Regions from separate parts of the Homo sapiens genome. Here region 2 is linked to region 1. The links are contacts of gene promoters, found by promoter capture Hi-C in blood cells and fetal thymus (Javierre and others, 2016). All regions are on one chromosome and are shown on one strand. The core of a region is centred on a gene start or on the middle of the fragment in contact, and the rest is flanking DNA. Distances in the headings are between cores, read along the strand shown.

Region 1 (6,348 bases), core at 1,528-4,027:
ATTGGGTTATGGTCTGTGTATAACTAGCTTTAGTAGATAGTGTCTGATATAGTTTGGATATGTGTCCCCACCCAAATCACATGTCAAATTGCAATCCCCAATGTCGGAGGTGGGGCCTGGTGGGAGGTAACTGGATCATAGGGGTGGGTTTCTCATGAATGGTTAAGTACCACCTCTCTTGGTACTGTCCTTGCAACAGTGAATTCTTGTGAGATCTGGTTGTTTAAAAATGTGTAGCACCTACCCCCACCCTACTTGCTCCTGCCATGTAAGATGGCTGCTCTACCTTTGCCTTGTGCGGTGATTGGAAGCTTCCTGAGGCCTCTGCAAAAGTAGAAACTGCTATGCTTCTCGTACAGTCTGCAAAACCATGAGTGAATTAAACATTTTTTCTTTATAAATTACCTAGTCTCATTTATAGCAATGCAAGAACAGACATACGGTACCACAGTTTTCCAAAATGATTAAACTCTCACCAACAATATATGAAAGATACAGTTGCTACATATCCTTGTCAGTGCTTGGTATTGGAAGTCCTTTTAATTTAAGCCATTCTGGTGGTAGTTTTGGTATCTCATTGATTTCAATGTCCATAATATATAGAACTTCTTTTCATGTTGGGCCCATAGGGCGGTCTTGGAATTCACCCTTTCAGAGGCCATACATATATGTGTATTGGTGCATGGCAGAGGCTGGTGTACACACATTAGTGTATGGCTGAGCCATAACCGGAGCATACCTGAGACTAACCCTATGGTCTAAGAAGAACTTACGTTTGGAGTCCTGGGCTAAGGAATCCAGGAGCAGCCAACCCAGAGATTCACTCCTTATCTATGAAGGACATCCACATCCCTGGCCCGTATCTTACGCTGTACAGATCAAGGCCCTTTGGGGTTAAATGGAGGTTGCTAGAAGGAGAGTGCTAAGTGAAAATGCTATATAGACTACGTGCTTTTTACAAATGGTAGCAGTTCTCCAGGTCAGCCCTCCACCACCGGACCACCCTTGTATGTAAATCCTGAATAAACCTTGTCTCCTTCACTGACTCTGCCTCTCTTCTTACAGTGCCATCCCAACTGGAGTCAGTGGGGTCCAGAAGGACAATTGGCCATTTAGATAACATTTGAAAACTAACCAAGGTAATTCACAGTAACATTAAAAAATACAAATGAACATTTCAATAAAGGCAGAAAAAGCAGTTGATATTCAATGCTTTCCTCCTGATGTTATGACCAAGACAAGGAAGTCCATTATCACTGTTTTTATTCAATAGTGGAAACACTAGCCAGCAACAAAAGGCAAAAATAAATAAAAATAAAAGGTATAAAGGTTACAGAGAAGTTAAACCATCTTTATTCGTGGATTGCAAGATTTTGATCACAGAAATTCCGAAAGAATCTACAGAGTATTACAAATAACAAGGGAACTTAGCAAGATGCTTGCATATAAGGTCAGTATGTTAAAATCAATATTGTTTATTCTTACGAGTAGAATATAAAAAAGTCAAAATGCCATTTAACATTGTATACAAAACACTAAATACTCAAGAATAAATCTAATGAAAGATATATATGATCTCTATACTGCAATCTATCCAAGCACAGCTGCATTAAAATATAGATATATGTGCAATCTACAAAATATTGCCAGGAGAAATTAAAGACCGCTTAAATAAATGGTGGGGGAAGAATGATATTCATGGATTGAAGGACTTGTTGTTAAGATACTAGTTTTCCCAAACAGATCTATAGATTCAATGCGAGCCCAATAAAAAATCCCCCCCCTTTTTAACAAGCTAATTCCAAAATTCACCTAGAAATACAAAGGCCGTAGAATAAGCCAAAACAATCTTGGGAGAATAAGTTACAGGACTTAAAGATTTATTATAAAACTACATTAAATTAACATAGTTTGGTACTGGTATAAAGTTAGACAAAGACTACTCCCTCCCGCTCCTCAATCTGCCCCCATCCCTAGAACGTGCTGGCAGCTTTCTCCATCCGATCTGCAAGGGTTAAAGGGCGCTGAGGAAGGGCTGACCGACTGGGGTGGGAAACAAAGCGGCACTGAGATAACTTCAGGCCACCTTCCTCCCCTCAGTACCTTCGGATGAAAGGTTTCCCTTCTTGGTCTGGGAAGCCCACTAAGAAGAAAGCCTGGGCTGTGGCGTTCTGGGGAAGTGAATAGTACGGCCGCCGGGCGCGTCGCCCCAGGAACCAGAAGGCTTTTTGCCGCTATTAGTGCAGAATGACTTCCGGCAAGTCCCAGTCGTTTAGAATCCCCAGCCCAAAGATCGCGGGGATCCACGCGTCATCCGGGCCTCTGCTCCCGGAAGAGACCACGCAGCCGCTAAAGACGTAATGGAGGCGAAAGGGCTTGGCTAGCTGTGGCAGCCATGATAAAAACTAGGGAAAATGGGAGCTCGAAGTAGCTTCCGTTATTAACAGACATACAAACGCCCCTAACCGCCACACGTTCCTTAGGGATGACAGTACGTTACAAAAGTGCTTCTAAAGTACTACTGAAAGCTCCGTGGGAGTGCCCGCTGGCGTGGGCGCGGTGGAAGGGAGGAAGAACGTGTACGCCCCAGGCCTCCGTAACCATGGCTGCGAGGGGCGGGGACTGGGAGCGCGGGTCCTGGGCCGGGGTGCGGCTGGGAGGAATCGGTCCTCCACTGTCCCAGCCGGCCCCGCGCCGGCGTGTCGCCTCCCGTCCCCCTAGCAGCACGCTGCGTGGCTGCTCGCTGGCTATTTAGGACGGAAGCTCGGTTGGTGTTTCTCCAGAAGTTTCCCCCTTGGGCGGTGGTGGAGGTGGTAACCGTGATAGTAGCAGCTCCGGCGGCAGCAACAGCGACTACGAGGGATGGCGGCGGCTGCAGCAGGAACTGCAACATCCCAGAGGTGCATGTTTTTCTTTCCCTTTGGTATTTATTTTATCCCCCTTTCCTTGGCTAGTGAGCCCTGCTGAAGTCGTTGTTTTCCTGACAGGTTTTTCCAGAGCTTCTCGGATGCCCTAATCGACGAGGACCCCCAGGCGGCGTTAGAGGTGAGAGAGCCCATTTCTGCTTCCTCCACTCTTCTTAGGGGAGCTGGGCCACTTCGGGTCCCCGCTGACCCGCCTTCTCCCCGCACCGCCGGACAGGGACCCAGGCTCTTGTTGATGCTGCGTCTCAGCTCCGGTATTGAGATTCTCCGTCTCTTTTCTCTGTTACACGGTAGCCGCGTTACCCCAGACTCCTGTCTTGCCCTTTCCACTCCCTACAGCTCCTGAGAAAAACCTCCTCTATTTCTTGGGAGCATGGTTGGCATTTGTAGTTTGGCTGAAAGGATTTTTTTTTTAATGACATTTATGATTAGAGAAGTGGACTCTGGGCTCGATGAAGTTAATTTTTTCGTTTGACAATAATTCTTGCCATTCTTACGTAAAAGTGTCGGTATGAAGTCAGTCTACTGGAGCAAAACCCTTTTCCCTCACGTCCCTGAAACTTTCCAGATGTCTTATCACAATTCATTATTCACTCATTTGTATATTCATCAAAATTTTTTTTTGGAGTGGCTGTGTGCAAAGGCGCTGATTGCTGTGGGTTAAAGTCTTGGTTATATACTCAGCTAACCTAGAAATCACTTTTTGTAGGTGTGCAATGAAGGCAAACCATAAAGCTGTAAAGGAATGTAAAAGATCAAGAGTTAAATAATAAGAATTAAAGGAGAACCTAAAGATAAATGATGCTGCGGGTCACAGAATTTAGCCAGGAGTTTTTGTTTGTTTTTGCGTTAAATCACAGAAAAGAGGAAACCTGTTTTGCTGTTACGTTTAACAATTTGAGGCAAGACAGCGTCTTTTCTAGCTATGACTTTTATAAGAAATGTGCCACATGGTACTAGAGCCTCCGTTGAGGAGATCTTTGAGTGGAGATTTGAAGGAACAAGGGAATTAACTTGGAAGCTCTGGGGAAAGAATATTCCAGGCAGGACCAAGAGCCAGTGCAGATCTTGAGGTAGGAATGAAGTTGGCCTGTATGTGAAGCAACAAAAAGGCCCTTTTTATTAGAGGGCCCATTTGATTAAGAGAGGTTGGACAGGAAACTAGGAGCCAGGTCCTATAAGGCCTTTTAGGGTCCAGGTGTGTTTTTTACACCTAAATATATAGACCTTTAGATACTGGGAGTAAGGCTTCTGGGATGAGTTTGGGGATAATGTTACAGGAAGCACTGAGAATTTTTCTCCATAATTTCTTGTATTAGCTAGACAGCTATGACTTTTAATTTACATTTGTTATTGTCGTGTTAGACCTAGTGCTTCCTTTGGGAATCCAGTTTATATAAAAGTTGCTTTTAAACAGTATTAACATAATGAATTTTATTGTCACTTTCCATCTTCTTTTACTTTAAAAATTTTTATGGAGGCATATATGATTTATGTAAATAACACAGATTTTAAGTCTATAGTTTGATGAGTTTTCACATGTTTACACCACCAGATTAAGATACAGAGTATCTCCATTCATAATGCTCCTTAATGCGCCTTCTCAGCCAGTAATTCTTCTTACTGTCCTGCTGACTCCTGCTTTGACCTCCATCACCATCAGTTAGTTTTGTTTGTTCTTGACTCATAAACAGAATCATACAGTAGGTGCTTTATTGAATGTAGACACTCTTTTTGCTTTAATGATTACATAAGTATACATTCATATTGTGTGAAGTAGTAGTTCTTTCGCATTGCTGTGTAATATTCCATTGTATAAATATATGTTGTATAGCCGTAAGTACGGCGCAATTTATTCTAACAGTGGACATCTGGGTTATTTCTAGTTATTAGCTAACAAAAAGCTTCTGTGAATACTCTTGTACATGTATTTTGGTGAACACATGCATTTCTTTTGGTTGTATGTACCTAGGAGAAGAATTGCCTAGGATAGTCATGTGGCTAGTATTAGTACCTTGGTTTTTAATGTATGGCTCTTGGACCAGCATTATCAGCATCACCTGGCAATTCATTAGAAGTGCAGCCGGGCGCGGTGGCTCACGCCTATAGTCCCAGCACTCTGGGAGGCCGAGGCAGGCGGATCACGAGGTCAGGAATTCGAGACCAGCCTGGCCAACATGGTGAAACCCCGTCTCTATTAAAAATACAAAAAATTAGCCGGGCATGGTGGTGGGCAGCCGTAATCAGCTACCTGCGAGGCTGAGGCAGGAGAATCACTTGAACCCTGGAGGTGGAGGTTACAGTGAGCTGAGATCGCGCCATTGCACTCCAGCCCAGGCGACAGTGAGGCCAGGCCATCAAAGGCATTAAATCCCAGCACAGGGTTTTCAGTTTTATCATATGATTATGGAGATCCGTCAAGAATTTGGAGGAAGGAAAATGAAATTTTCTGAATTACAAAACCTACTTTAAAAGCAGAGTAGATAGCGAATTGGAGGAGGCACAAGGGATAGTGGATAGCAGGAAGATGGTAGTGCAGACCGGGTCAAAGATGAATATTTGCATGTAGGGCAGTGATTGAGGGCATGGAGGTGAGTTGTTTTATGTAAAATGCACCGGACTTGGTGACGATTAGAATATAAGGGATGTCTCCTGAGTTTCTGGCTGGGGGAATGTTGTAGGAACTGGTGCCATTCATTTAGATAGCACTTAGGATGATAGCACTTAGAAGATTGCCTTCAGCATGGGGGAATAGGTTTGAGGATAGAAAGTAGTTTTAGATTGTGAATATTTGTATATGAGTTGCCTCTGGGACATTTCAGGTAAAGTTTAGAGAAAACTATATGCTGATGTTGCCCAGGACCACTGTCTAGGCTCAAGATAGACTTGAGTCATCAGCATGCATCAACACATATGTGAAGCCCCCCAGTAGTTAAGGAATCAAAGAATGTTTGTAGAGGGGAAGAAGTCTTAAGTACTGAGCCCAAGGAGAACATTAGTTTTTAAGAGGCAGCAGAATGGTAAGCTGAAAGGCCTGGTTATTATTGTCAAGGGCCACAGAGAGATCAAGTCAGATAGGAATCAGTTGGATTTTATAAGGGGTTATTAGTGACTTTGAGAAGATTAAGACTAGAGAGGCAAATATTTTTGTATTCTATGGCAAAGGAGATGCAGTCAAAGTAGAGACTGGGGAAAAGGCTGAAAAAAGTCTGCAAGAAGAAAAATCAATACTTTTCATTGAGTGATTACTGGATGTCACATACAGATCTAGGCAAGCCCAACACCCTGGAGTCATCTTCAGTTTCTCTTATCCCACATGTTCACCCATTAGCAAGTCTCTCTGCTTCTAATATGTTCCAACTTAATCGTATTTCTTTTCATCACCTCTGTGGCTAACATCCTTTTCTAGCCTAGACTTAATGTA
Region 2 (6,348 bases), core at 2,543-5,042, 4.4 Mb before region 1:
TGAGTAGCTGGGACTATAGGCTTGTGACACTGCACTTAGCTTGGTGGCCTATTTTTTAATGAGGTGGTTTGTTTTGTTATTGTTGAGTTTAAAGAGTTATTTGTGTATTTTGGATTCAAGTCTTTCATCAGATACATGTTTTGCAAATATTTTCTCCTAGTCTGTGGCTTGTCTTCCCATCTTTTGATTTCACTCTTTCTATGGTTTGTGTTTCTCATCTTTTCCATCTTTTTCCTCCCTTTCTCTCTCTCTCTCTCTCTTTTTTTTTTTTTTTTTTTTTTTTTTTTTTTTTTTTTGAGACAGAGTTTCGCTCTTGTTGTCCAGGCTGGAGTGCAATGGCGCAATCTCGGCTCACCGAAACCTCTGCCCCCTGGATTCAAGCAATTCTCCTACCTCAGCCTTCCGAGTAGCTGGAATTACAGGCATGTGCCACCATGCCCGGCTAATTTTTTGTATTTTTGTATTTTTTTTTTCTTTTTTTTGAGACGAATTCTGGCTCTGTTGCCCAGACTGGAATGCAGTGGCGTGATCTCGGCTCACTGCAAGCTCCGCCTCCCGGGTTCACGCCATTCTCCTGCCTCAGCCTCACGAGTGGCTGGGACTACAGGCGCCCGCCACCACACCCGGCTGATTTTTTGTATTTTTTTTTTTTTTTTAGTAGAGACGGGGTTTCACCGTGTTAGCCAGGATGGTCTCGATCTCCTGACCTCGTCATCCGCCCGCCTCGGCCTCCTAAAGTGCTGGGATTGCAGGCGTGAGCCACCGCGCCCGGTCAATTTTTTGCATTTTTAGTAGAGTCGGGGTTTCTCCATTTTGGTCAGGCTGGTCTGGAACACCCGACCTCAGGTGATCTCCCTGCCTCGGCCTCCCAAAGTGCTGGGATTACAGGCATGAGCCACCTCACCCAGCTTCTCCCTCTCTTTCATCAGTGCAGAGCATATCCAGTCTTTTCACAAAGCAAAACAAAAATCCCAAGTGCCACAGCCAGTCAAATCAAAAGAGATCTGCATTTGTTATTAGGATAATTCCTAAAGGGTCTCGGGATATTATAGAGCCCAAGATTTGAAAAAGAAAAAAAAATGCATCTGCTAGTTCAAGGAAAATAATGATAAATTATTTTAAAATTACATGAAAATAATTTATATAAAATAAATTAAAATAATTGAAAAGCATATATAATATTGAAATAGGAAGTCGGTAAGAAAAATAAACAGTGCTTAAGTCTCTGAAGAGGTCAGTCAAAGCCTTCAAAGCTCTCACCTAGAAGAAACACTTCTTTTATGAAAGTTCAGACAAAGCCACAAGATGACCAGCTAAACTCACACATTGGGTTAAGAGAAGAGGCAACAGGAGCACATTTCAAAGGGCTTATTCAGTGACGTTGTTTCACCAAGGACCCTATACTTGTGAAAAATAAAATAAAATAAAGTTTTCCAATCATTCTGTAAAACCACAAGAAATTTCTCTGAATAAGGAATTGTTTCCTTGAGAAAGAACAGACAGAATAGAGATGTAAAGAACCTAAAAAGAAAAAAAAAATCCCTGTTGAAGCACATAATGCAAATCTATTAAAATATTTTAGAATTCAGTTCCCCACTTCCATTTTTTCCTCCCTCCTTTGGTAAGCATAAAAACAAACATGGTTGCTGGTGATATGCAGAGCTGGAATCAGATTCATCTTGCTCTCTCAAACTCAACGTCAAAAAGGAAAACAAAGGTCCTCTAAGACTCCCTTTACATTTGGTAGTTAATAGTAACTTATAACTATGTTTTTAACTTTCTTTTGTTGAGTCATGGACTCTCCTCCTCCCTGGCTCCTAAGTTTTCAGGGTCAACGGGCAACCTTTTCTAAATCACAAGACTGGATTTGCTATGTTTGGTCTTGCTCCAGCGTCTTTATTATCCCTGCTGTTGTGCACTACACAGTTCTGTAGACACATGAGATAAAATGGAGAAAAAAAACCAGGAGATTATTCCCAGACCGGTTGCCAACTGATTTTAAACTGTTGCTCACTGCAAGTACACAAAATAATGAATGGTCTTTTATTCATGAGTCTTTCAAAATAGAAATCCTGGGGCGGGGAGGATTTCTAGTTTTGTCAACCTCATTTGTTCATCCTTTGCCTCAGCTTCCTAGTCTGTTCAGTAGTGTTGTTCACGAAGAATTTTGTTTTATTTTCTTCTGTAATTCCTTTTTTCCCCCCGGAGTATAATGACAGCCAGATTCTTCTCTATCATCTACTGCAAAATGCCTTGAGTATTTTTCTACCATCTTATTTTAACACAGAACGAAGTAGGAAGGATGTACATATAATTATTTATAATCCTCCAGATCTTGCTTCCAGAAATACTTAGTCTTCAACTGTAATGTCTCAGGGAACCTATTAAACTAGGGAGCTGGAAGCAGTCGTTGACTTTGAGGAATTAGATAACATTAGATACTATGAAAGTCCAGTCCATAGAGTCAACCTCACAGAGCCGATGCCTGCACAAGGGCGACCCAGGAGTTTAAATAAGTTGCTGCAAGTATGGTTAGCTACTGTTAAAACTCACCAGAACTGGAACCTAACTCATCCTCCTCTTGGTTGAGCAGATTTCATTTTGACAGGAATTTCTGAATACCCAAAGCAAACTCAAAGTCTGGCCTGGGTTTCTATCTCAGCCCAGGATGCTTCTGAAATACATGAACAGAAGGATTTGGAGATCTTGGGCTGTTTCCCTGGGACTTATGATCTGACATTCTATGGAAATACCCAACTCCCTCCTTGAGCAGGGCCAAATCCCCAAAGATCTCAGACTGAACCCACTTTTTTCAGGGTTGGCCCAAGGCAGAGCTGACACAGCTGTAACATTCTAGAGCACACCCACAACTCTGGATGAACCAGGACAGAATGGGGTGGAAGGATACAAGATAACACATTTGTCCAAGGGGGCCGTCTGTTGACACAGTAATGAACGCAGTAACGACGGGAGCCAGTATTCTACCTCGCATTAGTTGTAAATGAAACGTCTTCAAAACATGAGAATTTTGCGTTATCCTTAATTATTTTTTCATTTTGCAGAAAAATAAAGGGACTCGTCATCGAGTACTTTGAGTCACAAATCAGCCAAGTGTGCATGTGGTTTTTTTCCAAGTACGCACAAGAGTGGAACATTTCGTTTTACGAGTGTGAGATGTTTGAAATACAAATCTGCCAAGAGCTTCCTCCACATTGGTCTGGGACTAGGCAGAACAGGCCCTGACCTCCTGAGAGAGGGAAGGAAGACCAGGCAGGTCTGAGCCAGGTAAACGCCCTTGGGTGAGGTCCGTGAAAGATAAAGTCAGATCTCAAGGACAGAGAGCTTTAAACATGTTTGTGCTCCACTGAGTCGGTTACCTAATAAGTGAGAAAATGAAGATGTGGATGCACAAAAATTCCATGGCCTTTAGGCTCGCGGTGGGGACAGGGTACAGGGAAGCGGCGGTCTGGTGCTGCCAAAGGTTAGTCCCTTGTACCCGGCGAACTCAGGAAAGTTCACTCGATTTCGCTACAAACCTGCAGCACTCGGCCTGGAGGTAACCTGGTTGGGAGCGAATTCAGAACTGGAAATTCCAGGCGGCCCAGAGGGACACCCATCCCTCTCCGAGGCGCGCCGGGATCCGGCGCCCAGCTGCGGGGCGAGGGCAGGGTCCCGCGCAGCACCCCACCCCCGGCCGCTGGCCCCGCCCCCGCCCCCGCCCCGCCTCCCAGGGGATGTGCGAGCAGTCTCCGCCCTCGCGCGGGAGCTGGGAGGCTGCGAGATCCCTACCGCAGTAGCCGCCTCTGCCGCCGCGGAGCTTCCCGAACCTCTTCAGCCGCCCGGAGCCGCTCCCGGAGCCCGGCCGTAGAGGCTGCAATCGCAGCCGGGAGCCCGCAGCCCGCGCCCCGAGCCCGCCGCCGCCCTTCGAGGGCGCCCCAGGCCGCGCCATGGTGAAGGTGACGTTCAACTCCGCTCTGGCCCAGAAGGAGGCCAAGAAGGACGAGCCCAAGAGCGGCGAGGAGGCGCTCATCATCCCCCCCGACGCCGTCGCGGTGGACTGCAAGGTCCGAGCCCGGGGAGGTCGAGGAAGCGGGTGCTGGGCCCGGCCGGGGAGGGCTGCGCGGACTGCAGCGGCAGTGCGCCCCGAGGTGGCGGGCGCGGGGCTCGCGCCGCGGGGACAAGTCCCCGAGAGAGCCCGGCGCTCCCGTTTCCTGTGGGTCCGCAGCTCCTTTGTAAGGAAGTGCGTGTGCTGGAAGCGGTGCCTGACGCGGGGTCGGGGGCTTGGGAGGCCTGGAGAGGGAACGATTGGCTAATTGTGCCGAATTCCCGGTCGTTTGTGCAGTCCGGGGAGCGTGCGTGCAGCCAGGACTTGGCTTGTTCGATCTGGGGACCGGCAGCGACAGGCACAACAACAACAACCGAGTTTGGCACTTCCTTCCCAGTATAAATAATGTACCTAAAATGGCTGACATCATTACAAGCCTAAACCTCTGTTGTTTCCCACTTTCGTTTCTAGGCTTGAACAGCACTTGGACTAAGTCCAGCAACTGTAAGCGTCTTAATTTTAAAAGCGTTTCTTTACCTCCTTTTTCCACGGCCCTTCGGTAGTGGCAGGTGAACTTCACCTGGAGAGGGGACGAAGGGACAGTCCGCCCGAAGTAGGTTTGGGCTGTCTCTTACCATTACTAGTAAAGGCCAGTAATGACTATGTGGATGTTAGTGAAAAACCAATTGTTGGCATTTAAATTGTATCAGCGTCTTTGTGAGGACTCCTGCTGCGTGAAACTAAACATGAGAAATTTGCCCCCGGGTCCCTAATAAAATTCTCCTTTATTTTACAAAATCTCCCTTTAATCCTAGGAAAATTCATGAAGTGGGGCTGTTACTGTGTTGACTTTTAGTAGGTTACGATCATATTTACTTAAATATGAGTGTAATTGTCTCATAAGTTAAAAAAGCCCACAGCCTCTTACCCAGACCCTTTTTAGGCTGCAAAAATTAGAAATTAACTGTAAAGTTATGTTGCTTATCTTATTTTTTGTTGTTGTTAGCATTTTTCAAGACCTATTATCAGTAGGGTAAATTTAGTTTTAACTTAAAAAAATTGGTGTGCCACGTATGAATAATGGGAGTTTTTATATGGACGAATGAAAATTATTGCTGAAAAACAGGCCACTAATATACTGTAAAAAATTCACAATATAATGGTAATCTAGACATCATATTATAATTTATTATATTCTGAATATAATCTATCTTCAGAATATAATGGTAATCTTACTTTCTGGAAATGTTCTGATAAAAACAGACACGTCAGAGGTTGATTTCTAAATGACTTGCCTTGCCTTGAAATAGGAACAGTGAACTGATTCCCTAAAAGGATTAAAGGTTTTGGTTTTCGTATTGGTATTGTTTTCCTGAAGCCATTGCAAACAATCTTGGTCTTTAAAGAAAATGTTTGGAATGCACAGATGAAAATTGCAGTAGCAAATTATTATGTTAGCTCTTTGTTTATCTAACATTCGTTGTACCTAAAATAGATTGAGAGTCAAGTATCCAGTCACAACAGTCTCAAATATATGTAGTCTTAATGCTATCACATATATATATATACACACATACATTTAAAAATCCTATTAACAAATATAACTGCTCCCATTTAGAAAGGAGAGAGTGAGCGAGCATTGGATGATGTCACTTCAGACAGCTTTTCTCTGTTCCGCTGTAGTGGAGATTTGAAACTCTGGACAAACATCAGAATTACATTTGCTGAGCACCATTAAATCTGACTTCTGACAATTTTTGTCATTTCTGAAATAGTGACTCTGCCAGATTCTCAAAATTGCTCACGAGTTCACCATATTTAAATTTTGTGGTCATTGCAGCTATAAGTAATCATTGGTAGCTCCGTGCTTTGTTTTCCATTTTTTATTTTCTCAGATCCTCCATATCCAAAGAAAAATACTACTGGGACTAAAGAGTGAGGGCCAGAGTCGTCTTTGTAAACCACCCAGCAGTCACGGATGAGTTGGTAGATAAAAAATGACTAATTCTTTTTCCAGCTATAAGCTGAAAGACTTCTTTAGGGGATGACAAAATATTTCTCTACATTAAAAGTAGAATCCTTATAATCAGTCAGTCGCTTAACGGGAAAAGGAAAACCTTAATGACAGACTTTTGTGAAAGAAGTTCTGATCTCTTCATTTCAGAGCTTGGGCAGTGATTACATAATGTTCTCTGGCTCCTTGCGGGTGGCTCTGTGGCAGCCACCTTGTCTGACTGCCTGGACTGGGAACAGAATCAGCCTTAATGTGTTTTGCCGAGGGCATTTCCTTTGCCTGGTTGGTT

Evidence for each region. Contacts are between HindIII fragments. The CHiCAGO score rates a contact against its expected background, and 5 or more counts as called.
Region 2: the fragment with the promoter of ITM2B here is called in contact with the fragment with the promoter of SUGT1 in region 1 in 1 of 17 cell types (fetal thymus); the score reaches 6.3 in fetal thymus.

What each region holds. Positions count from the first base shown.
Region 1 is chr13:52,650,059-52,656,406 of GRCh38, forward strand. It overlaps SUGT1 (SGT1 assembly cochaperone of MIS12 kinetochore complex), which reads left to right and starts at 2,778. Exons shown (of 13, transcript NM_006704.5): 1 at 2,778-2,900; 2 at 2,988-3,045. The coding sequence starts at 2,863. SUGT1-DT (SUGT1 divergent transcript) reads right to left here and starts at 2,249. Exons shown (of 1, transcript NR_170300.1): 1 at 1,247-2,249. RefSeq lists enhancers at 2,079-2,418, 2,528-3,029, 3,139-3,258 and a silencer at 2,509-2,778. The HindIII fragment of the contact is 4,517 bases long and covers 310-4,826 here.
Region 2 is chr13:48,229,414-48,235,761 of GRCh38, forward strand. ITM2B (integral membrane protein 2B) reads left to right here and starts at 3,793. Exons shown (of 6, transcript NM_021999.5): 1 at 3,793-4,064. The coding sequence starts at 3,948. RefSeq lists silencers at 3,669-4,028, 4,039-4,248 and enhancers at 4,304-5,001, 6,106-6,348. The HindIII fragment of the contact is 15,181 bases long and covers 1-6,348 here.